4 separate regions of the Homo sapiens genome follow, and all the other regions are linked to region 1. Evidence: promoter capture Hi-C in 16 types of primary human blood cells and fetal thymus (Javierre and others, 2016). All regions are on one chromosome and are shown on one strand. The core of a region is centred on a gene start or on the middle of the fragment in contact, and the rest is flanking DNA. Distances in the headings are between cores, read along the strand shown. Region 1 holds the start of FBXO8 (F-box protein 8). Region 2 overlaps GALNT7 (polypeptide N-acetylgalactosaminyltransferase 7). Region 3 overlaps GALNT7 (polypeptide N-acetylgalactosaminyltransferase 7). Region 4 overlaps GALNT7 (polypeptide N-acetylgalactosaminyltransferase 7).

Region 1 (6,865 bases), core at 2,676-5,175:
ATGGGGGAAAGGACAGTCTTTTCAACAAATGGTGCTGAGAAATCATATCCACATTCAAAAGAATGAGGTTGGAACCTTACCCAACATTATCTATGAAAATTAACTCAAAATGGATCAAAGACTTAAATCTAAGACATAAAACTGTAATACTCTTAGACGAAAAAACAGGGCAACAGGGCAAAAGGCTTACAGCACTGAATTTGGCAATGATTTCCAAATGCACAAGCAACAAAAGAGGAAACAGACCAACTGAACATTATGAAAATTAAAAAAAAATTGTGCATCAAAAGACAGTATCAACAGAGTAAAAAGGCAACCCACCGAATGAGAGAAAATATTTGAAAATCATGTATCTGATAAAATCTAATATCTATAATTTACAGATAACTCCTTTAACTCAACAATAACAAAAACATGATTCAAAAATGGGTAAAGGACTTGAAAAGACATTTTTCCAGAGAAAATACACTAACGTCCAATAAGCACAGGAAAATACAGTCAACATCACTAATCATTAGGGAAATACAAATCAAAAGTACAATGAGGGACCACCTTATACCCATTAAGATAGTTACTATCGAAAAAAAAATAAGTCTTGGCAAGGATGTGGAGAAACTGGAACCCTTATGTATTGTTAATGTGAATGTAATACGTATGGTACAGCCTCTGCGGAAACAATATGGAGCTTCCTAAAAAAAAATTAAAAACAGAATTACCATGTGATCTAGCAATTCCACTTTCAGGTATATACCCTCAAGAATTCAAAGCAGGGTCTGGAAAAGATATTTGTTCACCCATGTTCATAGCAGCATTATTCACAACAGCTAAAACATGGAAGCAACCCAGGTGTCCAATAACAGATGAATGGATAAGCAAAATGTGGCTGACACATATAAGGGAATGTTATGTGACCTTAAAAAGAAGAGAAATTCTGGCATATGCTACAACAAAGATGAACCTTGAGGACATTATGCCAAGTTAAATAAGCCAGTCAAAAAAAGTCAAATACTGGATAAGCCCATTTATATGAGGTTTTGGTTCTTTACCACTTTCCAGTAATATGAATACAAACACTTCCGGTTTCCAAAACTGGAAACAAAAGGTAGAATGGTGATTGCTAGGACCTAGGAATGGGGAAGGGGAATTATTGTTTAATAGGTATAGAGTTTCAGTTTTACAAGATAAAAAGAGTAATGAAGATAGATGGTGTTGATGGTGGCACAACATTATCAATGTAATTAATACCATTGAACTGTACACTTAGAATGGTTAAGATGGTAAATTTTATGTTACGTATATTTTACTACAATTTAAAAATTGGAAGAAACAATTCTGTGATCCCATAAAAATAAAATGAGGGAAAAAACTCTGAAAAACAAATTAATAAATAAAAGAAGAGATGATGGCGTGCGTGTGTGTGTATTTAACATCTGTCCTTTCCATCTCTTTTTTCCCTATATTCATGACTTCCACAAATCACTACTCCATATAGAGTCTCTCCAAGCTTGGCTTACTTGCTAAAATCTGGTTCCTTCATTCAAATAGCTTATGAATCCTATGCAATCTATTCTTGAAAAATACACGAACTGCTGACTAAATGGTTAAACTCCCTAAAGCTGTTGCCTAAACTCCAAACCACAAATATTTTTATCTTATATTGCTATAAAGTACTTGCACCAGCACAGTGGCTCACACCTATGATTCCTGAACCTTGGGAGGCTGTGGAAGGAGGATCGCTTGAGCTCAGGACTTCAAGACCAGCCTGGGCAGCACAGTCAGACAAAAAAATTAAAAGAAATAACCACACGTGATGGCGTGTGCCTGTGGTCCCAGGTACTCTGAAGGCTGAGGTGGGAGGGAGAATTGCTTGAACCTAGGAGGTCAAGGCTACAGTGAGTCTTGTTCGCACCACTGCACTCCAGCCTGGGCAACAGAATAAAAATCTGTCTCAAAAAAATACTTGCCCCAAATATGATATAAATTTATTCAAGTCAGCCAAAAATGTTTTAGTTTATTAGAGAGCTAAGTCAAGAAATTTGTCAGAAAAACAAAACAATGAGAGCAAAACGAAAAAGAAATAGTGAACATAAATTTCCAGAAATAGATGTATTTCATTTAAATTGTTTAAAAAATTATTTAAGTAAAATAATTCAAGAAAAAGAAACAGAAATTAAATGCATAATTCTTAGACTTTAGTATTAATGATTTTGATGCATTATCATGGGTCAGTCAATGGAATAGTGCCAGTTTCCAAATCTGAATCAAAATGAGGAAAAAATTAGTTGTACATTAGCAGTTGGTTAAATAATAAACCATAAAGTTACAAATCTGAATGACTAATTTCAACACACTGTGATTAAAGATTTGGTAATTCAATGTTTTTATATTGTAAAATGAGGAAGATATCTTTTAACCTAGCAACAGTAAACACACAAAACATTCCCCATTAAAGTGACCATATGTAATAAATTATGATCAATGTTTTGGCTTATCTAGAAGTTACTATAATATTTTGTGGATGGAAGTAATTGATCCAAGGGCCCCAAGTAATATTAGTTAATTTGCTGTAACTTATTATTAAATGAAGTTACGCTGCACCCTAATTCCTGATGTACAGAAACTGATAATATTTGTTGTTTTAAGCTGGGGTAAATTTGGGGGTAATTTGTTACCCAGCAATAGACAACTAATGAAGTACCTCATCAGACATATTGTCAGGTTAATTGGCTAAAGATGAATTTCTGACCCAATATGAAAAAAATAATAAAACTTATGCATTCTTTATTCTGAAACCTACTCTGTTTCACATATCATTTTCGTGAAGGGTAGAGTTGAGAAGTGTGTAGAGCTCCTACCTCAGAAATACATTACTTCAAACATTAAAAGAAGGAAGAGGAAAGCTGAAATAGAAAACATAAATTGTCTTCACTTTACCGTAATAAAAATCATGATATATTCATTTGTGGATATACACCTAGGAGCCTTGAAAATGAATATTTTACTTGTAAAACAAGTAGAATCAATTATTTTATTAGTAAATTCATACAGAACCTAAAAATAAAACTAAAAAAATTAAATGACTGAGGATTGGGATCCATTTATGTGATTTTGCCAAATAAATATTGAGAACCTTCTACGTAAGAGATTAGAACCCAGTCGCTGAGAAACAAATAAAAGACAAGTTTGACAAGTTTTATAACCCAAGTTTGACTACTGTAGCAGCTAGCAATCCATCGTGATCTTAACTATACTTGTGTTTGCATTCATATTACTGGAAAGTGGTAAAGAACCAAAAACTGTCTAGGAACCAAAATAACACTCGACCCGAAAACCAACACTTGGACCTGAAGAAAGTAACCCTTGTCATTTCTCAGGTTTATTTCACAATGACGCTGGGTTACTACTTGGAGTCCTAAACCGAACTACACCCCAATGGCCTAGAAACAGAAGGAACACACCCAGTTCCGCCTCCTGACAGTGATTCCTCACTTTAATGAGCCACCACTACTGTCACTCAAGATGCTTCGCACTGTCATTGGTCGCAAACTCTTGCTGGTCGGCCAGTTTCGGCCAACTGGCAAGCACTGGTTGTCTTTATTTTCGAGAAAAGTGAAGGTGAACAGGGAAAAGAGACAAGAGATCTAAAATATCTAGGTTGACTCCTGTACCTGAGCGACCTGCGATCTCCACCGCCGCCGCGACGAATTGGCCTCTGGGCGGGGACTTTTAGCCAAAAGGAAAATGGCTCAGCCGGGAACTGGTGCCCAGGCCATGGAGAAGCTGATTCAAACTTTACTTGTCCACACCGGTAGAGGTGACCGCGATGAGAATACCAGAAACAGCACTACGACCCTCAGAACTCAGGGTACCTCCAGCTGCAGGGGCCAGAACTGCCGACTATCCCAATTTTGACGTTTCCTATTGTTGCCGGAAGTGACGTTAGGCTCCGACTCTTAACGGAGACGCATTTTTATTTCTGTTGTTTACGATTCGCTATAGATTCCTTGTTTCTCACTTCGTAGCACGAGCCACTCTGACCATCAAGATCAGAAAAACTTCTCAGCTGCAAGTTAGAAGTGGACTGGCCATTGAGGAGGCTCTCAGCGGAGTCGCTCTTCACAGGAGTCTTGAACGCGGTGTGGAATCGGCAGCGAGGAATCCTGGAGCACAGAGAAGCTCCCAGCTTTGAAGGTCTTGCGGTGGTGCGTGGCGGGCAGGAACCCACAATTCCAAATACAAACGGTCGGCGCGAGAAGCGCTTCTGGGCGCAGGCGCCTGGCTGTAGCGACTGGTTGCGGGAGGCTGGACTCTGGTGACTGTGTATGGTTGCATATGCTCCGTTTTCCTCTCCCTGTCGTGCTGGGCCTTTGAAACCGGCTTCTTTGCTGGTGGCTGCTTGGTGAGCCCCGAGGAGACGGCAAGGCTGCGCCTGGTATTGGGCGGAGGTCGCCTCTCTCCGCCGTCCTTACAGAGACCCCGGGCGGAGACGAATGACCAGATCCGCCTTTTCATTCTTTTAAATCAAATGGCGGGAGGGGAGCCTTGCTTATATACCCAACTAGTATATGCTTTTAGTCACAACGAAGTGGGAAGTATCGTGGTAGCTCATCCTATCAGAATTAGGTTGTGACTTAGGGTTGGAAAGTTATAGGCTTACTGATTCCTATTGGATCCTCTGGGGTGAGGATACAAACGGCTCCTGACTATAAGGAAGACAGGACAGCAGTTCGTGTTTTCCTTGTTGGCATTTCCCCAGCTTTTCAAATATTTCTCCACCTTTATTGAAGGCTACAGATTTTTCCCTCACTGTAACAAGTTAATCTTGAAGTTGTTATTCTCTTTTACTCTGGAATTATGGCCATGCTAGACTGTTTTTTTCCCGAATTATCTGCAGACCTTTTAATTTTATGTGTGAACACAGCAGTCCCGTTGAACTCTTTACTTGTCCCTTACTCCTCCCCACTCCCGCCCAGCTTTCTCGATGCTTTGCCTTTCTCAGACCTTTCTCCTATCTCTTAGAGAAGTATTTCCCTAATATCTTTTGCAGTTTCATAAACTGTTTTTCTCATCTTTACTTTTTTGTTTTTGATACGTGTTTTTAGATAATATCGAGCATTATGTGCTATGTCACAAACTCTTAGCCATTGACTGTTATTAGAGTCAGTGTAGTTGCTTCATTCTAAACAAAAATCACTCTGGTCCAGTGACATTCTATTGGGAGGCATTGTTTTAATGACCTCTAACAGCAATGAGATTGAGCGATGTTGAAAATCCTAAACTGCTAGAGTACACTATTTTCACAACCTCTCCCACAAGTTCAATTGCGCAGATCTGACTTGTAGACAAGGAAGGAAGCTAGAAAGGAATATTGAGAGCTTCTTTATTATTGAATCTATGCTGCAAGCTGAGTGGTATCTCCTTTTTTCCTTAGTTTGCCTTTGATCAGTGCTATAAGTTGAAAATGTTAAATTTTTAAAAGTATTTTTCATTAATGAAAGTAAGGTGTTAAAATGTACATAAGTAATAGATTGGCTTCTTTTAATGTCTTGTTTTTAAGGCTTTTGAATTTTATAGTAGACTTAGTAAAGCCCTTTGTGAGAATGTAGAGCAGTAGCTGTAATTTTATTCTGTGATAATCCCAATTTTAAATCCCTTTATTTTTCTGTCTCCTATCACTTACCTCGTTCACGAGCTCTGCTTGTATTACTCTTCAAAATATTTATTCACTGGTACTGAAGAGAGACATAACTTTGTTGTCAGAAATTCCATTATCAGAGGTAGAAATCATGTAAGAGACACTGAAATGTTTTCCAAAATGTCAGAAAAAGGAAAGGTGAGAAGATATCATAAAGTGTTACGTAAAACAGAATTACTTGCACTGGGAAAATGGAATATACATCTGGAAGGACTAAAGGAAGTCTGGAAAGACATAGAATTTACATTAAAGTTACTGGGAAGAAGGTATCCCTAGAAGAATTGTGTTACGATAGATGGGTCTGGAACCCGAAAGAAGCTCAGACCTACTATATTGGCCAGTGGCAAAATCCAAGAATACATTTTTTGCGGTTAAAGCCAGAGTAGTCCTCACTTCATGTTTTTCAGGAAAGTAAAGGCTTATCTTGGGAAATCCCTTTTAGGCTTCCGTGTGTCCATCTACCCCCAGTCAGTCTAAAGGATATTAAATAGGGTTTACCTTCTTGGCCAGTGTTTTGTATAATGTGATTTCAGGATGACTTTCTCTTTTTCTAGTTATCTCCCATTTGACAGTACCTAAAATTATCTCTGTCTAGAAATGTAAATGTTTAGTTGAAGTAATTTATTGGCTGAAAAATAGTGACTAAAATGTGCATGCACAAGTCTATAAAGTATATTCAATAAGCTGTTGCCTACCATGTTGATAAAGGAGACTAGGAACAGAAAGGTAGGTTCATAAAGAGGGAGCAGTTGCTCTACCCTGGGGAAATGGCTGTGGAAATGAGTGGCGAGGGGCTTAAAGTAGGAAGCTTACTAAATTTAGGATTTTGTAAATCGGTGACCTTCTTACCTTTCCTTATTTAAAGATAGAGAAACGGTGTGTAAAGGGATGATTTGTATCCTGGACAGCTGGGTAATGCGAATTGGAGGAAAAGATCACACTAACCCAGCTTCACCTGATTTATGAATTGTTCTGTTTTCATTTTAATATAATGACTTCATTTTAATGTGATAACTTCATTTTAAAGGAGCTTCATTCTCAAAGGGTTCATTACTCAAGGTATTGTTATGTATTACTTTTCTTCTATGAAGTGTCCATGGACAGTTGTGGTAGATGTTTTTATGTAAGTTATTGAGTTTCACGTTACTGGCTGACTAGACTTTTATAGTT
Region 2 (3,261 bases), core at 415-2,914, 1.1 Mb before region 1:
GATCCAGTGTAATTTCTGTCATTTGTCAAAAACAAAAGGTAGATTTTAAAGACTTAACATAATTAACATTAAGAGGAATGCTTAGGTATCAGAAGAGCAAGAAAGACCCTTTTATTGGCTTCCCAGGTAAATAGTAATACAAGCAATTTAAAGTGTAGCTTATAAATAATAAGAGCATAAATAAGGGATTATTGCCTTCCTTTAATAAAGACTAACCTAGGAGCTTTTAAGGTACAGTGCTAGAAGGACAAATCCTGTAGGGAGGATTCTGACTCCTGAGTTTCTCCTCCCCCTTGTGGTTCTTTTACTTCGATGACTATTGCATATATTCCACCCATGGTGAGATCTCTGCTTCTCTTTAATGCTGATCTACACATGGACTTTTTTGGATCCCTTTAAATAGCCTGAACGATCCAGTTTACCAGGTATGGGTTCTGCCTCTACTCCAGCAAGCTTGTACCTGTGGCTCCATTCACCCTGTGCCACTTTTTGTCTTGAACTATGAATATGTCATACACTAAATTCTGTTACAGCCTTGACAACTTGGGATGGTCCTTTCTCATCTGCACTATTTCCTTGTTTTAGGTCTGTCCACCTGTGGAGTCAAGACAAAAGAAACATGTTTCTTATTTCCTTCCCATCTCTGGGCCTCTTGCCCTTTCTCTGAAGTGAATGATGTGAAAAATGACCTTACATTTCCGATCATATTCTGTTGTGTGATTTTAAATATTGATTTATTTGAACATTTTTGAGTGCCAATTATATACCAGGCATGGTACTAGTTGTTAAGGAAATACTCCTTGTCCTTAATCTCATGGATCTTGTAAAAACCACACAGCAATCAAACCTCGATAAATATATAAATAAAAATTGTGCTACTGCTTTCATAGTGAAAACCATAGGGGGCAAGAAAATGGAGGAATTTGGTCATAAAAGCCTTACTTGAAGAAATGACTATTAGCAGTAGCAAATCCACACAGGTCTGAAGCAACTCGATTCTTACCTCCTGTGGGAAAGAATTTATTGGAGGGGCATAAGGCAGAGTGAGAGACCGAGGCAAATTTTTGAGCAGGAGTGAGAGTATTAAAAAGCTTTAGAGCAGGAACGGAAGGAAGTACACTTTGAAGAAGGCCATGTGGGCTACTTGAGAAATCCAAGTACCTCGTCTGACCCTGGACTTGGGGTTTTATACATTGGCATGATTCCAGGGTTTGCGTTTCTTCTCCCGTGATTCTTCCCTTGGGGTGGGCTGTCTGCATGCGCAGTGGCCTGCCAGCAGCGGGGAGGGGCTGCCTGCAGTGTGTTTACTGAAGTTTTACTCATGCTCACTTGAGGCATTTTTCCCTTACAATTTGAGCCTTCCTAGAGGAAGGGCATATACTAGTTAAAAGCTGCCATTTTGCCTATTAGTGCACATGCTGGAGCCCACTTGCCCAACTCCTGAGATCTTAGTGGGAACCTGCTGATAACCAGCTTTAGGTGTTTTCTATCTAATGGGAGACTGCCTTTCCATGGTGTTGGCGCGACCAATTATTATTTCAGAGAGACAGTTTAACAACGGCCTGACCATCACCTGATGGCCGCCTGACATTCCTGGTGGTGGGGGGCCTTTCCTGCCCTGCTCATGTCTGCCTAGCTGCCTACTCTGACTTTTGAGGCGAAATCTGAACATTTCAAGAAAAGTAGTTAATCTGGAAGTGGGTGGCAGCATTCTTGAGAAGGAGCATTTGGGCAAAGGTCCTGAGGCAGGAGGTAGCATGAGTGAAATAGTGAGAAACTAGGAGATAAATATTGTTGGAACGTGGAGAATGACAAGTAGAATGATGCCACACAGGAAAGCATGGGTCTCGTAGTCCATGCTAAGGAGGAGATCTTAAGTGCGGTGAGAAGCCGTTGAAAGATTTTAAGTAGGGAAGAGTGGATTTGTGTTTTGAAAAGATCACTCTGGCTGCCTACAGAAAGTATGTATTTGTCTATAGAACAGGTAGCAGGAGTCCTGGTGGGGGTCATCATTATTCAGGTGGGACATAATCCTTGCTTAGATTGGCAGGGCGGTGGTAGAGATAGAAAAAAATAAATTGATTCAAGAGCTCCTAAAGATGCAAAGGCATCAGGATTTGGCTATTGGATATGGTAGTGAAGGTGTCAGGAGGCCTAGGATGATAGATTATTTGTTTCATTATGGAAAGTTCTCAAAGCAAAATGTATACCTTCTTGTATTGTATTTTATGATTATGGGAAGCTTTTTTTTTTTTAGTCTTTGCCCTCTGGATATTTTAAGGTCAGCATTTATTAAGATTATCTGCTTGGACTTGCAAAGCACAGAAAGTTCCTTTAATTAAATAAATTATGTCCCAGACTAACACCATTTATCCCAGGTTTTAGCCCTGAGTGACTGTCTACAGTTGACCCATAAGCCTCTGAAAATAAAGGTTTTTAAAGGAAATGTTGACAGATCCATTAAAACAGCAGTCCCCCACCTTTTTAGCACCAGGGACTGGTTTTGTCAAAGACAATTATTCCACAGACTGGGGGAGTTGGGTTGGGTGGGGGATGGTTTGGGGATGAAACTGTTCCGCCTCAGATCATTAGGTATTAGATTCTCATAAGGAGTGTGCAACCCGGATCCCTTGCATGCAGTTCACAATAGGGTTTATGCTCCATGACCCAGGGTTGGGGACCCCTGCATTAAAACATTCAGTACTGGTGAGAAGCTGTGTGTAAACTAATGACTCTCTGGATATGCAAATGCAACTTTAGTCAAGTCATTAATGCCACTTAGGTTCAGGGTGTATATAATAGGACTAATTCAGGAACTAGTAGGCCAAGAGGTTTTATGTGATAGGCAAGCTAACAGGTTTGAAAGGAATATAGCTTAAATGAGGATTAGTGGCTGAACTGATTACCCTGGCAGTCAAGTTCCACCTTACCAAAGCCATTTTATCTCAGTGATGATCAGTTGTAACCTGAAAAATTCTGCCCTTGAACATGAGATTGTACTTCAAATGGAAGCTCTGTTTATACTATTAGGGATGGAGCTATCACTTAGTGAAAGTGTAGTGTCTTAAGTGGTCACTGTTCTCTCAGTTTCCCAGGCTATACACCTTAGGATTGGTTTTTGTTTCCTTTGCTGTTTTCAGTGTCCCATCCCCCTTCTCCCCCCACACATAATAATGATTAAAAATATCACATCACCAAGTCTGAGAAGTCTGGGGTTTATAGACTTCCTGAAATTAATGCAGAACTTTTGCATACATCTAC
Region 3 (6,865 bases), core at 2,729-5,228, 1.0 Mb before region 1:
TTAAATTCTTAGAATGGTTCAAAGTTTTTCACATTGAGATCCAGCTCCCCATCTTTCACCTGGAGGAAGAAGCTCTGTGGGGGGTTAGAAACAGGGGGATGGCTGTGCATGCTTTGCTTCTGTTTAAAAAGGGAATTCAGTCTCCAGAAGGGAGGGGATTGCACTGGATGCTTGGAGCAGGCATCAGAACATGTAGATGGTTTTGGATAATCTTCATATGAGGTTATCTTCAATAACTCAAAGAGTTGATTGACAAAAAATAGTTGATTAGCCAGGCACAGTAGTTCATCCCCTGTAATCCTAGCATTTTGGGAGGCCGAGGTAGCAAGATTGCTTGATCCCAGTAGTTCAAGACCAGCCTGGGCAACAAAGTGAGACCCCATCTCTATTTAAAAAAAAAAAAAAAAGAAAGAAAGAAAAGAAATAGTTGATATTTTTCTAATGAGCATGTAGTATTTTTGGTACATTTAATTTTCCTGTTAAGTCAGGCAAATCACGAAATTATACTAATGATGTGGGAGAAATTGCATTAAAACTGGGGGAAAAGAGCCCAAGACTTAAAACTTACCTCATCTAGATATTCTGTAGTTGATCATAATTACTGTACAGAATGCAGAGATCTTTAGAAAATTATTGTGTTGATACAGATGGGGACTTCTTTTAAGAATTCCAAATGGTAATGCATAAAAATCCTAAGATTGGTTAACAAGTTGCAAAATTGTGAGATTTATTGAGAGGCTCTTATATAATGGAAATCTTCCTTTTATTCAGATGACTAGGTGATCAAAAATGTGATATAGACAACTTTTTAAGAAGATACCTTTGTTTTTGAAACAGGGTCATGCTCTGGTCCCCAGGCTGGAGTGCAGTGGCACAATCATGGATCCCTGCAGCCTAGGAAGATACTTATTTATTTCAGTATTCTTCATTATAGTACAGGATAGATCTGTATTATATACTGTATTATATATTTTGCTTGTTTGGTTAAAGGGGGGTGGCATTTAATTGGCTCAAAATGCCCCCTTAGAAACCCGATAAAATCTTCCCAGTAGGTGGCTAAAACTGCTTCACAGACTTGCCCACTTGTAACTGCAGTTACCATAGTATATTAGAAGTCTTGAGATAAAAATAAAAGATATAACTATTAGCTATTCCATAATAGGCATCACTCCATTGTCAAGAGTCCCAGTGTTTCAATCTGTAAAGTAACTTTGGGACGAACTGGTTTACTGTGTAGTACTCAGCCTGGTTACCCTGCTTAAGTTTAATATACAGTATTAGAGTTGCTGACCTTGATTTCTTTTAGTGGAGCATTATGATGTCAACTCTACTATTTTCTCTATTTTGTTACCCTTTGGTTTATATCTTGGCCTGATACTTAAAGAAAGGGAAAAAAAAGATAAAGAAGAATAGCAATTCCTCTAAGCGGGTCTATTTCTTTGAGCAGATAATTCTTACCAGAATATCATACTTTAAGCCACACCTAGAGCTTATATAGAATTTTTATATTTCCATAGTTACCTGAAAGCATGCTTCATCCATTTTCAGTTCTGCCCTAGTTGCTAACAGAGGCATTGCCATTGGAAAGTGGCCTTCAATCTCTTTCTAGTTTAGGGATATTAAAATATACTTGGAAATGGGTCCTTTCCTGTATGGATGACATTCTAGATATTTAAGGACTGGTAAGGTCTCTGTTTAATCTTGGGCTTATCCATTTTAAGCCCTGATTAAGCACAAATTCCTTGACCATGCCCAGCAGGGCTGCAGCTCCCAATGCAGTCATCGCTCAGTGCTCTGAAAGGAGCAAGACATGGAGCTCTTCAGTCAGCCGGAAATGTCTAGTCCATCCAGCTGTAACTAAGCAGAGAGAAAGAAGGGTACTGAGGCTGGTGCACTCCACATTCCCACCCACATCCTGCCACATGTTGGTGAGAGTCTGGGGAGCCCCAGCCTACTGGCACGCCTTGTTCCCTCTGAATTTCTGGAGCTTATTTATTTTTACCACCTCCCTCTCTGCTTTCTGTGTCCATTCCTTCTGCTCCTTTTAGGTAACTGCAGCCAGAGAAAGGATGCTGATAGGATTTTTCTGAAGAAAGGTGTTTTTGATCAAGAGAGTTAAAATCACAGAATGAAGTTTGGCTTGTTATACCTTTAAATTCTGTGGCTCATGAAGCATGATAACCAAGTAGTGTGCATGTTGTTCAAGCAGTGGCCCTTTCCTAAAGCTAAGTCATCATTTCTCAAGAGATCATGTGACTGCATAAGCTCATCATTAAAAGCTTAGTTTTCTAGGCTTCACCTGTGATTTCAAATTCAAACAAGCCTATGTTACTGTCATTTGCTCTAAAGACCATTTTTCTAAATCCCTTTGGATTTATATTATCTCTACCAAGGCATGGCCATCTTGGAAAAATATTACATATAAGCAGGATTTGGGGGTAAGAAGGGGCACTTTGTAAGTTGTAAGGTGGATGGTTACTAGCCTGACCTTACTTCTGGTAATCCATATTACCATCCAGTGATAAGTGGTTATATTTTTCAGTCCATTTCCACCTTTATGAACATACTGATCTTGGAAAATTATCTACTCATCCTCTTTTCCATTTCTGTTTAACAGTGATTCATTAGTTTGGGCTGTAGAGTGGATCAGCTGGTGTTTACGAAGGTATCATTGTACCAGTGAGTCACAGAGGCATCTACTGATTCTCATTCACTCTCAGAAAGGAGGAGTATGTAGCTTTCCTCCTCAGGGGAGTAAAGTATTACACCACTTTATAGCCGTTGTTTGAATCATATAATTAAGATTTGATGTGATTATTCTTAGTTGACTTGGGGTTAGACAGACAATTCTTGTATTTGGTTTTGCCTTCCGATTTAATGACATGCAGCCTCTGAGAAGTGAGCAAATTCAATTTTTCTGGTGCTATTATATGGCATTATTAAAAGTACAGTGCCGTGTAGGGAATATAGAGTTATGTTCTTGGTGAATTCATAAGGTATTGCCAGTACGGGTCTATCTGATTTAAGCCCTGCTCTCCCATTTTGTATTTTCCATTCTTTATCTCCCCTTTTCTTTTCGGAGTCTATCTTACCACCAAAGCAGAAATTTTAGGATTCATTCATTTATTCAGTGAGTATTTATTGAGGAATTATGTGCCAGGATAAGCACTGGGCATGCAGTGGTGCGTACGATGGACATAGCCTCTGCACTTTCACAGAACTTACAGTCTAGTGCAGGGACTAGGGAACCAAATCCAGCCCAACACCTGTCTCTGTAAATACATGGTTACTGGAACACAGCCATACCCATTCATTTACATATTGTCTATGGCTGCTCCCACACTGCAGAGGCAGACTTGAATAATTACCACAGGGACCCTGTGGTCTGCAAAGCCAAACATGTTTACTACTTAACCCTTTGAAGAAAAAGTTTGCTGACCCCTCTCTCATGGATAGTGCTGAAGACATTTCATAAATGCAGTCTAGAACTGGAAAAGCCTTGCCAACCCCCTTGAGGAGTGTGTATTCTCCAGAGGGCAGTGGGCTACTGCTGGAATATGGTAAGCAGGGAAAGAAACATGTTGATGTATGAATTTTAGAAAAGTCCCTGTGGCTGCTGTGTAGGAAGTATGTGTCAGGGCGAGAAGCACTAGGTCATAGTAGTTAAGAGTGTAGATCCTGAGCCAGACTATTTGGATTGAAATTTTGACTCTACTACATACTGATTCTAATCTTAGGTAACTTCCCTGTCAGATGTCCCATCTATAAAATAGACATGGCAATCATAGTACCTAACTCATGGGATTGAATAAGTTAATGTATGTGAAGCACTTAGGACACAGTGTTTACCATCATCACTATTATTCCTATTGTAATCTTGTTCAGAGGTGAGGGTGCCTGAATTAAGGCAGTAGCAGTGAGGATGATAGAAAGAAGTGGCCAGATGGAGGCTCTACACAGGTGATAGAATTGACAGGAATTTATGATTAATTGGATGTCAGAAGGGTAGATAAAAGAGAATAAAAAGTTGAGGGTGATTGCAGGTTTTGGATTTCATCAGTTGAGTGAATGGTGGTTTCAGTCCCTGAAGTAAGGAGACAGTCAGTGAAACAGGCTTGTGATGTGAGGTGAATGATAGGTTCAGTTTTTGGTATGTTAAATTTAGGTACTAGAGAGATATGAATAGAAATGTTCAGGAAGAAGTTGCCTGTAAGGTTTTGAGTTCAGAAAGGTGATACGGGCTGGGGAAATGGATGTAGCAGTGATCACTATAAAACTGGTCACTGAGCTTGGAAGAGAATGAAATAACCTAGAATGAGGATGGAATGACAAATAGACTAATAACAGAACCCTGAAGAACACTAACAGTTTAAGATTAGACAAAGAACCATTAAGTCAAAAAAAAAAAAAAAAAACAACTTTTGGAGGAAAATAAACATGAATTTTTAATCCATTAAAATTTCTGTCATTGAAATAGTTGAATTTGAAAAATATTTAAATTTGCAATTTTGGTATTAGCATAGGTCAACCTAAACTATGGCGTGTATTTCACAATTTGATTTCATGTACTATCATATTCTATATTCTTCTAATATTCAATTTCTTCTCTATGGAACATTAGGTAACTTAGTGGATGCTATGGCTATGGATGCTGACATCATATGAGCTGTTCCAACTACTCTTCTATATTTAATAACATTTCCTTACCTCCCTGTTTACCAATTCACTTGAGCCTGTGAAAGGAAAAACTGAAGTGGAGGAGAATGTCTTTCTCCTTTTTGTGTTATACTTGTTTCAGCATCAACAACTGGGAACCAGTTTGTTACAACATTTTATAATGATATCTCTATATTAATTTACTTACAACACTAACATAAGTAAGTATAATTTTGGAAGGAGCCAGGAGATAAATTGGAGAAACGAACACTTTTTCCATCATCAGAATCACCCCTTACCTCTCTCTTACAGTCATGCGTGCCTTACACTTTACTTAGTTAATTCCCAAGAGAATCTTCAGTTCTTCCTGAATATGATTTCCAAAAAAACAGCCTTCTACTCACTTACTCTGACCCTTAGTATGGCTCACAGGTTAGGCTCAAGCTAAGTCTCTGAGGTGGGACAATCAGAAGGCTGATCTAGAGGCTTTCTCAACCCTGTACCACACATGCCTGAAGAAAGGCATCACATTTATACAATCAGGCTGTGTTGCCTTTTCTATTTAGGGGGGAACTTGTGAAAAACTTTGAAATGCTCCCAAAAGATGTCTGTCTAACTCAACTTTCCAGCTTATCTCACCCTTTCCTATTTTACAATCCTGGAAATTACAGAAAACTGAGAGTGATGCAAAGGACTCTTGCCCATTGAAATGGAAATAGTTCTGGTGGAATGCAATTGATTATTGCCCTATGCAGAGTGACCAATTTAACCAGATTTGCATCTATTTGTAAATTCTTTGCAATATTCTTGATGTTTATGTTTGTCCTTTGGATTTATTTTTGAACCAGTTGTAATATCTTACAGGTTCCTTTTTTAATGAGTTAGTTAAAATTTATGTCCCATCTTCAAAAAAAATTATCTTGTTATATATACACATGTATGTTTATACATGCATATCACATCTGTAGAAAAATTCACAAGAAGTTGGTAGCTGTAATTACCCCTGCAGAAGGAAAGGCAGGAAAGCTTGCTTTTCACTACATGCCCTTTTGGATGTTTTGAATTTTGTGTTGTATGCCTATGTTACCTAAACAAATAGAAAATTTTTAAAAATTTCTTTTTGAACTCTTGAAAATCAAGACTTAGCGATCCCTTGACTACTAATTTCACGTCTGAAATAACTGACTTTCTATAAAGGTTTTTGCCTCTAAATAAACTACTAATAGAGAGCAGCCTACACATCAACATCATACTTAGAGACTTACTTTTGTATTTTTTAAGGCAAACTAGTAAACTTTACTTTTCAAGGTAGCTCTAACCCTGTAGAAAGATTTTGGTCGGGTGGTGCTAATTCTATGACTACTCTGTTGGGGAATCACACAGTTTTAGTGTAGAGGGAAGTGGCAGACCCATCAGCCTATTTTGCATTTATTCTGTATGCACCTTGCCTCTTCACCAGCTGTGTCCTCTATAATCCCCTTGTCTAATTATAACGAGCAGCCCTCCCATTAAGCCAGTGATTCTCAGGCTTAGATGTATATTAAATCACCAGGAGTGCTTTTAAAAATCGAAATGCTTAGACCAATTGAATCACAATGTCTGAGGGTAAGACACAGACATTGGCATTTTTTAAAGTGATCAAGGTGATGCCAATGTTGAGAAACAGTGTCTTGTGCGAAGAATGGTACTGGCTTAGGAAAAAACTTAACAAATAATACCTCAGAAGCAAAAGCACTCAGGATATCTGACTGGAAGATCTGCATAGGTGATGAAGACGGCCCAAACAGAAAAGAGAGGCACCCTTTACTGTGAATGAATATCCTTGTACAAAGAATCTGTTTTGACCCATGCTGCTTCTGGAATGGGGCAAACTAGATATGGGGGAGTGGTTTAAAAGCCCGAGCTGACTTAGTTACAGATATTAGCTTTTTTTATACTTCTGATTTCAGATAAACTCTCAGTGAGTAAAAAATACCAAATCGGGACTCTGCATATCCCCGCCTTGTTCCTCTGCCATTTGGGGCACTGAGCCAGCCTGCTGACAGTGACATCCATCTAATACCACTGCCACCATATGGTTGTGCTACCGACAAAAGGTTATATTTATCACACACGGTACAACTGGGAAAACCACATACTGTACAAACATGACCTATTAAGCATCTGTTTTAATCAAAGATTCTAGAACTTCTTTGCTCTAACCCTTAAA
Region 4 (6,865 bases), core at 2,802-5,301, 1.0 Mb before region 1:
AGCAATATGGGATTGTCTTGAATTTCTTCCACATGTCTTTTCAGAGTTTTTACCTTTTTCATTTCTTTTTTCTGAGTCTAGCGCTTTGCTTTCATCTCAGTCTTCAAATGGCCCAGATAAACTGCTTATCAGAATGGATGGGAGCCCAGTGCATAAGATTGCACTTTGGGAGTCACATGGTAGCTTTTAAAGGGAATGGCTTGGACGCTTCAAGAACCTTGCTCATAATATATTAAATGTGTCATAGAATTTTAGAACTGGCCAGGCTCAATGGCTCATGCCTGTAATCCCAGCACCTTGGAAGGATGAAGCAAATGGATCACTTGAGGCCAGGATTTCGAGACCAGCCTGGCCAACATGGCGAAACCCTGTCTCTACTACAAATACAAAAAAATTAGCTGGGCCTAGTGGCGTGCGGCCATGATCCCAGCTACTTAGGAGGCTGAGGCACAAGAATTGTTTGAACCCGAGAGGCGGACGTTGCAGTGAGCTGAGATAGCACCACTGTACTCCAGCCTGGGCAACAAAGCAAGACTCTGTCTCAAAAAGGAAAAAGAAAAAGAAAAGAAAAGAATTTTAGAACTGAAGGGGGCCAGAGGGGTTCCTTGGTACTGTGAGAGATCCCTCACTTTGTGGATAAGGAATCCCAAGTATAAACAGTATGTGATCATCCAGGATTAAATTAAGTGGCTGAGAAGAATGAATCCAGGTCTTCTAGGACCGACCTTTCACTATACCAGACAAAAGAGCACGAAAGTGTGTTGATCAGAGCAGTAGTTTTAATTGTAGTATTTTTGATACATTTGTGAAACATTTTATAGTAATAAAAATTTTTACTTAGGAGCAAAAGAAGTATGTTATCAATCCCAAGGTAACTCTTTTTAAATGTGGACATATAAAATTCCAATTATATGTAGAAGGGCCTCTGCTTAAATCTAAGTTGTAAGAAGTTATACTATTAATAAGAGAACAGATATAAAAATAATAAAATCCTGCCATTTTCGGCAACATGGATGAGCATGGGGGACATTATGTTAAAAATAAGCCAGGCACCGAAAGACAAGTATTGCATGTTCTCACTCACGTGGAAGCTAAAAAATTTGATCTCATGGAGGTAGAGAGTATAATGACGGCTACCTGAGGCTGGGAAGGGTGTGTGTGTGTGTGTGTGTGTGTGTGTGTGTGTGTGTGTGTGTGTGTGTGTGTGTGTGGAGGGCTGGGATGTGGGATAAAGAGGGGTTGGCTAATGGCTATAAACATACAGTTAGCTGGAAGGAATAAGTTCTAATGGTCAATAGGACAGCAGGTGACCATAGTTAACAACAATGTATTGTGTATTTCAAAAGGGCTAGAAAAGAATATTTGGGATGTTCCCAACACAAAGAAATGATAAATGTTTGAGGTGGTGCATATCCTAAATACCCTGCTTTGATCATTACCCATTATATGCATGTATCCATATATCACATGTATCCCATAAATAGGTACTATTATCATATATTAATTTTTAAAAGCCACCTTAGTATGGCCTAGAAGTAGAGGATCAGTGTTGAGGGTATGGGCAAAATTTACCATTGTACCATGCCTGTCACTTAGATCACCCTCCAGCCTGGCCCCTGAAACGCGTACCTGAATGCTAGGGAGATACACTGAAAGAGCATTCCATTAAAATGCCTGTCAAACTGAAGGATGGCAAATTTCTGTACTTGAGGGTTTGTGGACACCCATAGGCAGATTACCAGCCAGTGGCTTCTGCAGCGCCAGGAAACCATGCCTGGGCACAGACCAGCAAATGTCATCAGCAATGGCCATTCCTTAGAATAGGCACAGCAGGGGGACCAGCTTCACAGGACCAGGGGCCCCTTTGCAGCAGAGTCTTCACCTCAGCAAGCAGAGCTCACAGAAAATGAGGGGTGCTGCATGGTATCCGAGAGTGCCAAGTTCATAAATACACATGAGGTTCACTTTGGGAATCCCATACAGAGCTGAAAGAGTGATGAGCATGATATTGAGCATTTAGGGAGCTTTGGTTTCCTCTTCTAGCAATTGTGGATAATAATACTTGGCTTGTAAAGTTATTGTGGGTAACAAATGTGCTAAAGGACATAAAAGGCATATCACACATGAGCTCCACCGGTTGGAGGTCACAGTTGTTGGAGGCCACCTTCATCCCTTGTGTGGCATAGAGAAGCTTCAGAAGCTCTTTTTTCTGTATAGGCCTCTCATCATGCCAGGTGTGTGGTATTCAGCCTTATCTTTAAAATATGGTACCCTCTTCATTGTATTTCATCCTGCCGTCTTACTACAAAAGAGGAGGAGTCCTAAAGGAAGTTAGTAAATACAAAGAAGTTCTTAAGGTCAACCTAAGATAAAGAAATGCTTGCTTGTAAGTGCTGGGTGATTGAATCTATAATTTGCGTCAAGAGAAGTGAAGAAAAATGTTAGGGTGGTGCAAAAGTGATCGTGGTTTTTGCAATTTTTTAATGACAAAAACCACAATTACTTTTGCACCAACCTAACCTTGTTTTAGGCATGTATCTATTTAAAGACACTTTATTTTACCTATAACGTTGATGGGTTTACATTGAACTCAGGGCCAATAGCACTGTAACTCGCACCCAAACAAAGCTTGTCTCACGTGGATTTTCTGCACAGGACACAGCACAGCATCTTTGTGCTTAGGATACCAGGTAGCACACTGACATTATTCTCGGGAGGCTGTTTTAAACAGCAAAATTACCAACTAAAAGCACAAAAATGAGAAAATCTGTGGCACCAAACAAACTGCAAATAGGACACTTGTTTTCTCTCTCGTTTTTTTTTTTTTTTTTTTTTTTTTTTGAGATGGAGTCTCGCTCTGTAGCCCAGGCGTGGCGCCATCTTGGCTCACAGCAAGCTCTGCCTCCCAGGTTCACGCCATTCTCCTGCCTCAGCCTCCCGAGTAGCTGGGACTACAGGCGTCCACCACCACGCCCAGCTAATTTTTTTTTTTTTTTGTATTTTTAGTAGAGATGGGGTTTCACCGTGTTAGCCAGGATGGTCTCAATCTCCTGACCTCTTGATCCGCCCTTCTTGGCCTCCCAAAGTGCTGGGATTACAGGCGTGAGCCACCGCACCCGGACACTTGTTTACTCTATGAGCAGAAACAAGAAACAGAACATCCTCGTGTGCATGCCCATCAGGCATCTCCAATTGCAATCCACATTTGTGGACGTAGAATCCACAAATAATAAGGAGCCACTGAATTTTTGTATATTTAGTATGGGGCTCAGGTTAATCACAGAAATATTTACTATATAGTTAGTGGGCAAAATGCCCAGTACCCCATTATAATAAACCCAAATCTCAGTAACAGTGAAGATGTTTCTCAGAGGGGCATGGCTCCTCTGATGTTTGTCAGATAAGCATGTCTTATTATAGGGGCACTCAGACAACAGAGGCACAGAACAAAACAAAATATTTTTTGTCTGTTAATTTATTTCAAAAATGAAATCTGATAATGGCTTTTAGAAATGTGAAGACCAAAAAGCATCAAATTTTGTTTTTCCATTTAAGGAATAGAAATAAAGTGGCCGAGTTATTATTATATGTTCCGCCCATAATTCATCTTTCCTTGCTCCTTCCCACCCCTCCCCACTTTATCTTCCACCTCCTTTTATAGATACCTAACTGCTAAAATGGGCTTGGGAAGGCAGCTGGAATCATGCCAAGGTGTACCCAACAGAAGCTGCTGCAGTTAGTGACATGAGCTATGGAACACAGGAGGTCTTTTGCACTGATTGGAATATTTATTAGATTTAGTGCTGAAATAGTCTCTGCTGATAAGCAGACCTAATCTGAATTTCAAAGGTCCTTATGACCACGTAAATGTGATAGTATCATATCCTCAGGCCCCAAGTGCATCACCTTTCCTAAATGGTTGGATGCTGTATTGAATCTATTTAATATCCTGGTAACTAGCTTTGACTTTTTTCAGGAATACTTAATAATTTTAGATTTAATCTTCCCTCCTCCTCCTCCTCCTCAACAGAAGTAATTTAAATTCTTTCCAAGTAGTCATTGCACCTGTTTCTTACTTCAATCTTGGTCTCAAAGAAATATACAACAAACTCCGATAGACCACGGCCATAAAGTCCAATTTTATAATCATGCAGGAAAAGGAATGCTTCTTGAGGATCAAAAGTTGCAGTCATGATGCTAGGATGTTTCATATCCAGTAAAACTAGAGACACCCCACCTCATCAGCTGATTGTGGGAGAAGTCGTTTACAAAAGTCCTGTGAAGAAAGAACTAGATGATATAAATGTATGCATATTTCTAGAACCTGAAAAATATAAAAAGATAATCAAGTGTACTTGGACCCATAGCCACTGGTTTTAACCATTCTGCAGAAGTATAGCGCAATTATTATTGGCAATATGTGAAGATATGGATGATTTCATGGGGAAATCTTTGAAATTAAAGTGGGATAATTTGGAGGTACAGGGGAAATGTTTTTCCCTTTAAACTGTGGCAATAACCCTTGTAATTGCATGTGCTCTCCAGAATAAAGATATAGCAGATTGACATCAGCTTCAGAAAATGAGACATTAGGTACCTGAGGGATTCAGTCAAATTGCTCCTATGAAATCTTGAGTTTTGAAGATTGAAAAAAAAATGCTTGTTTTTGTGACAAGTGTTTTGGGGAATATTTTAGGGGATAATTGATGTTCTGCATTCCAATACCTTAGGTAATGAGGAAGCTGTGGAAACAGCCTCCTTTCTTTTATGAAGGCTTTCGTATTCAAGATCACCATAGAGGTCAGTGCTGTGAAGCTAATCTTGGACGCCTATCTCAATTGCTTCAGAGTATTTAGGATTTCTAAGGTTTTTGATGGATTTTTTTCATCAAAAGATATAATTTTTCCTCCACATGAAATGCTTTAAAGTGGTGATAATTAAACATATTTACTCAGTAATATTTGGAACATTATACTGGAATTCAGAAGCTCTGGCTTTCCTCTTTGGATTTATAAACCACCAAAAGTTGGCAACTGGCCCTTGTAAAAGATTTCTTCCAGCAGAGCTCTTGTATCTTTGTTTGTGTTTTCCTTTCCCGCTTAAGCACATTTATCTTTGCTTTTAGCTGCTGCAGCCCTCTGAGAAACAGCAGTCTTCTTGGCAGCTGCATTCTGTGCAGGCTCCTGCTCTATCAGTATGACAGCTATCTAGAAGGACTATATATTAGATGGAATAACCAGCTGATATCAGAAGGGAAAAAACTGGCAGCAACGAAGCACAAAGTTCCCCTCAGTATAATTTGCAAATCTTTCAATTAACCTATTGAATCAAAATGAGAATGGGTATAAATAGTAATGATTTTTAAAATATGCCCTTGCTTTTTAGAATAGATGCATTTTCAGCAAAGCCATCTGCAAAGTGAATACGAAAATTTGGTCTAATTCTGTTAGTAAGTTGACATTGTTGTTCTGGGGAAAGCTTTAATGTATTATTTTTTATGAGAATAAAGGTATCAGGCTAGATTTTTTGCCCAGGGGTTTGCTGATTATGAAGCTGCCAGAGTAATGTTCCATTCACTTGTAGTTGTCTTAAGTAGCAACTTTAAATATTTTGAAAAAAGGAAAGAAGTATTTATGTTTAGTAGAATATTTAAAGGAAGAAAGTAAAAACAATCACCTGTAATCCTACCAGCCAAGTAATACATATATTTATGTTAAACTGTTTGTTTGTTTGTTTATTTATTTATTTATTTATTGAGACAGAGTCTTGCTCTGTTGCCCAGGCTGGAGTGCAGTGGTGGGATCTCAGCTCACTGAAACTTCCTCTGCCTCCTGGGTTCAAGTGATTCTCCTGCCTCAGACTCCCGAGTAGGTGGGATTTCAGGTGTGCACCATCAGGCGTGGCTAATTTTTGTATTTTTCGTATAGATGGGGTTTCACCACATTGGCCAGGCTAGTCTCGAACTCCTAACCTCAGGTGATCCACCCACCTCAACCTCCCAAAATGCTAGGATTATAGATGTGAGCCACTGTGCCTGGCCCCAAGTAGTATATTTTAAAAATATGAGGTCATTTTAAAAGATGAGGTTAGATGTTATATATTATTTCTAAAATTTTATTAAAATTGTTTTTACACATTTTTATGTATCTTTAAATATTTTTTGTGCAACACCATTTTGCTAGCTATATGATCTGCTGCATGGATGACCACAATTTATTTCATCCATCCTTTATTTTGGGACATTTGGATTATTTTCAGGTTTTCACTATTGTAAACAATGCTGTGAGGAACCCGCTTATGGCTCAGTCTTTGTGCCCATCATTGATTATTTCAAGAGGACAAATTCCTAGTGGAATCACTAAATCAAAGGATTAATAACTGGTTCCTTTTACTTGGTAGTGTTTTGTCAACTCTGGAGTCTCTCCTCTGCTCTCCATCCCTGTCCCTCACTGCTTCCACTTCATACAGAATATATTTGTTTTGCCCTTTTCCATTTTTCTCTTTTTTTGTCTCCTTTGGTAATGGTCTCCCCCTGTATATGGACTATCTGTAGACCATTAGAAATTGAGGGACTCTCAAGAGAGAATGCAACAAACTGATACTATTTCAAGATGACAGTTGACCATAGCTTACATGCAGTGTTCACATGAGTTAAGTCATTGGGTTCCCTGCCAGATTTTAAGTGAACTAAAATGTTTTCTAAAATTTTGGTTTGAGATTTTCTGGCATCTGCCTCTTTCAGAGTGAGAATTAACATACCATCTCAGTTGTTATAATTCCATCCCATCTTTGAGCCATAAACTATTTGATAACTAACTTCAACTCACTCTTCGTGACTCACTCGCCTCAGAAAGATTTGATTTTC

What was found. Contacts are between HindIII fragments. The CHiCAGO score rates a contact against its expected background, and 5 or more counts as called.
Region 2: a fragment that was not itself captured here is called in contact with the fragment with the promoter of FBXO8 in region 1 in 8 of 17 cell types (naive CD8 T cells, activated CD4 T cells, total B cells and 5 more); the score reaches 15.4 in naive CD8 T cells.
Region 3: a fragment that was not itself captured here is called in contact with the fragment with the promoter of FBXO8 in region 1 in 7 of 17 cell types (naive CD4 T cells, fetal thymus, naive CD8 T cells and 4 more); the score reaches 8.0 in naive CD4 T cells.
Region 4: a contact is called between a fragment that was not itself captured here and the fragment with the promoter of FBXO8 in region 1, in 5 of 17 cell types (non-activated CD4 T cells, fetal thymus, total CD4 T cells and 2 more). The highest score is 12.5, in non-activated CD4 T cells.

The regions. Positions count from the first base shown.
Region 1 is chr4:174,279,742-174,286,606 of GRCh38, forward strand. FBXO8 (F-box protein 8) reads right to left here and starts at 3,926. Exons shown (of 6, transcript NM_012180.3): 1 at 3,669-3,926. It overlaps CEP44 (centrosomal protein 44), which reads left to right and starts at 4,170. Exons shown (of 12, transcript NM_001040157.3): 1 at 4,170-4,202. RefSeq lists an enhancer at 4,121-4,370 and a silencer at 4,135-4,402. The HindIII fragment of the contact is 4,999 bases long and covers 1,503-6,501 here.
Region 2 is chr4:173,171,001-173,174,261 of GRCh38, forward strand. The region is part of intron 1 of GALNT7 (polypeptide N-acetylgalactosaminyltransferase 7); the gene reads left to right. Among named protein-coding and RNA genes, the nearest start is that of GALNT7-DT, 3.0 kb to the left of the region's middle. The HindIII fragment of the contact is 1,151 bases long and covers 1,090-2,240 here.
Region 3 is chr4:173,240,819-173,247,683 of GRCh38, forward strand. All of the region lies in intron 1 of GALNT7 (polypeptide N-acetylgalactosaminyltransferase 7), which reads left to right. Among named protein-coding and RNA genes, the nearest start is that of MIR548T, 24 kb to the right of the region's middle. RefSeq lists silencers at 6,058-6,107, 6,128-6,197. The HindIII fragment of the contact is 3,403 bases long and covers 2,278-5,680 here.
Region 4 is chr4:173,265,717-173,272,581 of GRCh38, forward strand. All of the region lies in intron 2 of GALNT7 (polypeptide N-acetylgalactosaminyltransferase 7), which reads left to right. It overlaps LOC124900812 (a long non-coding RNA gene), which reads right to left. Exons shown (of 3, transcript XR_007058367.1): 2 at 1-6,865. MIR548T (microRNA 548t) reads left to right here and starts at 2,444; the gene lies at 2,444-2,517. The HindIII fragment of the contact is 2,850 bases long and covers 2,627-5,476 here.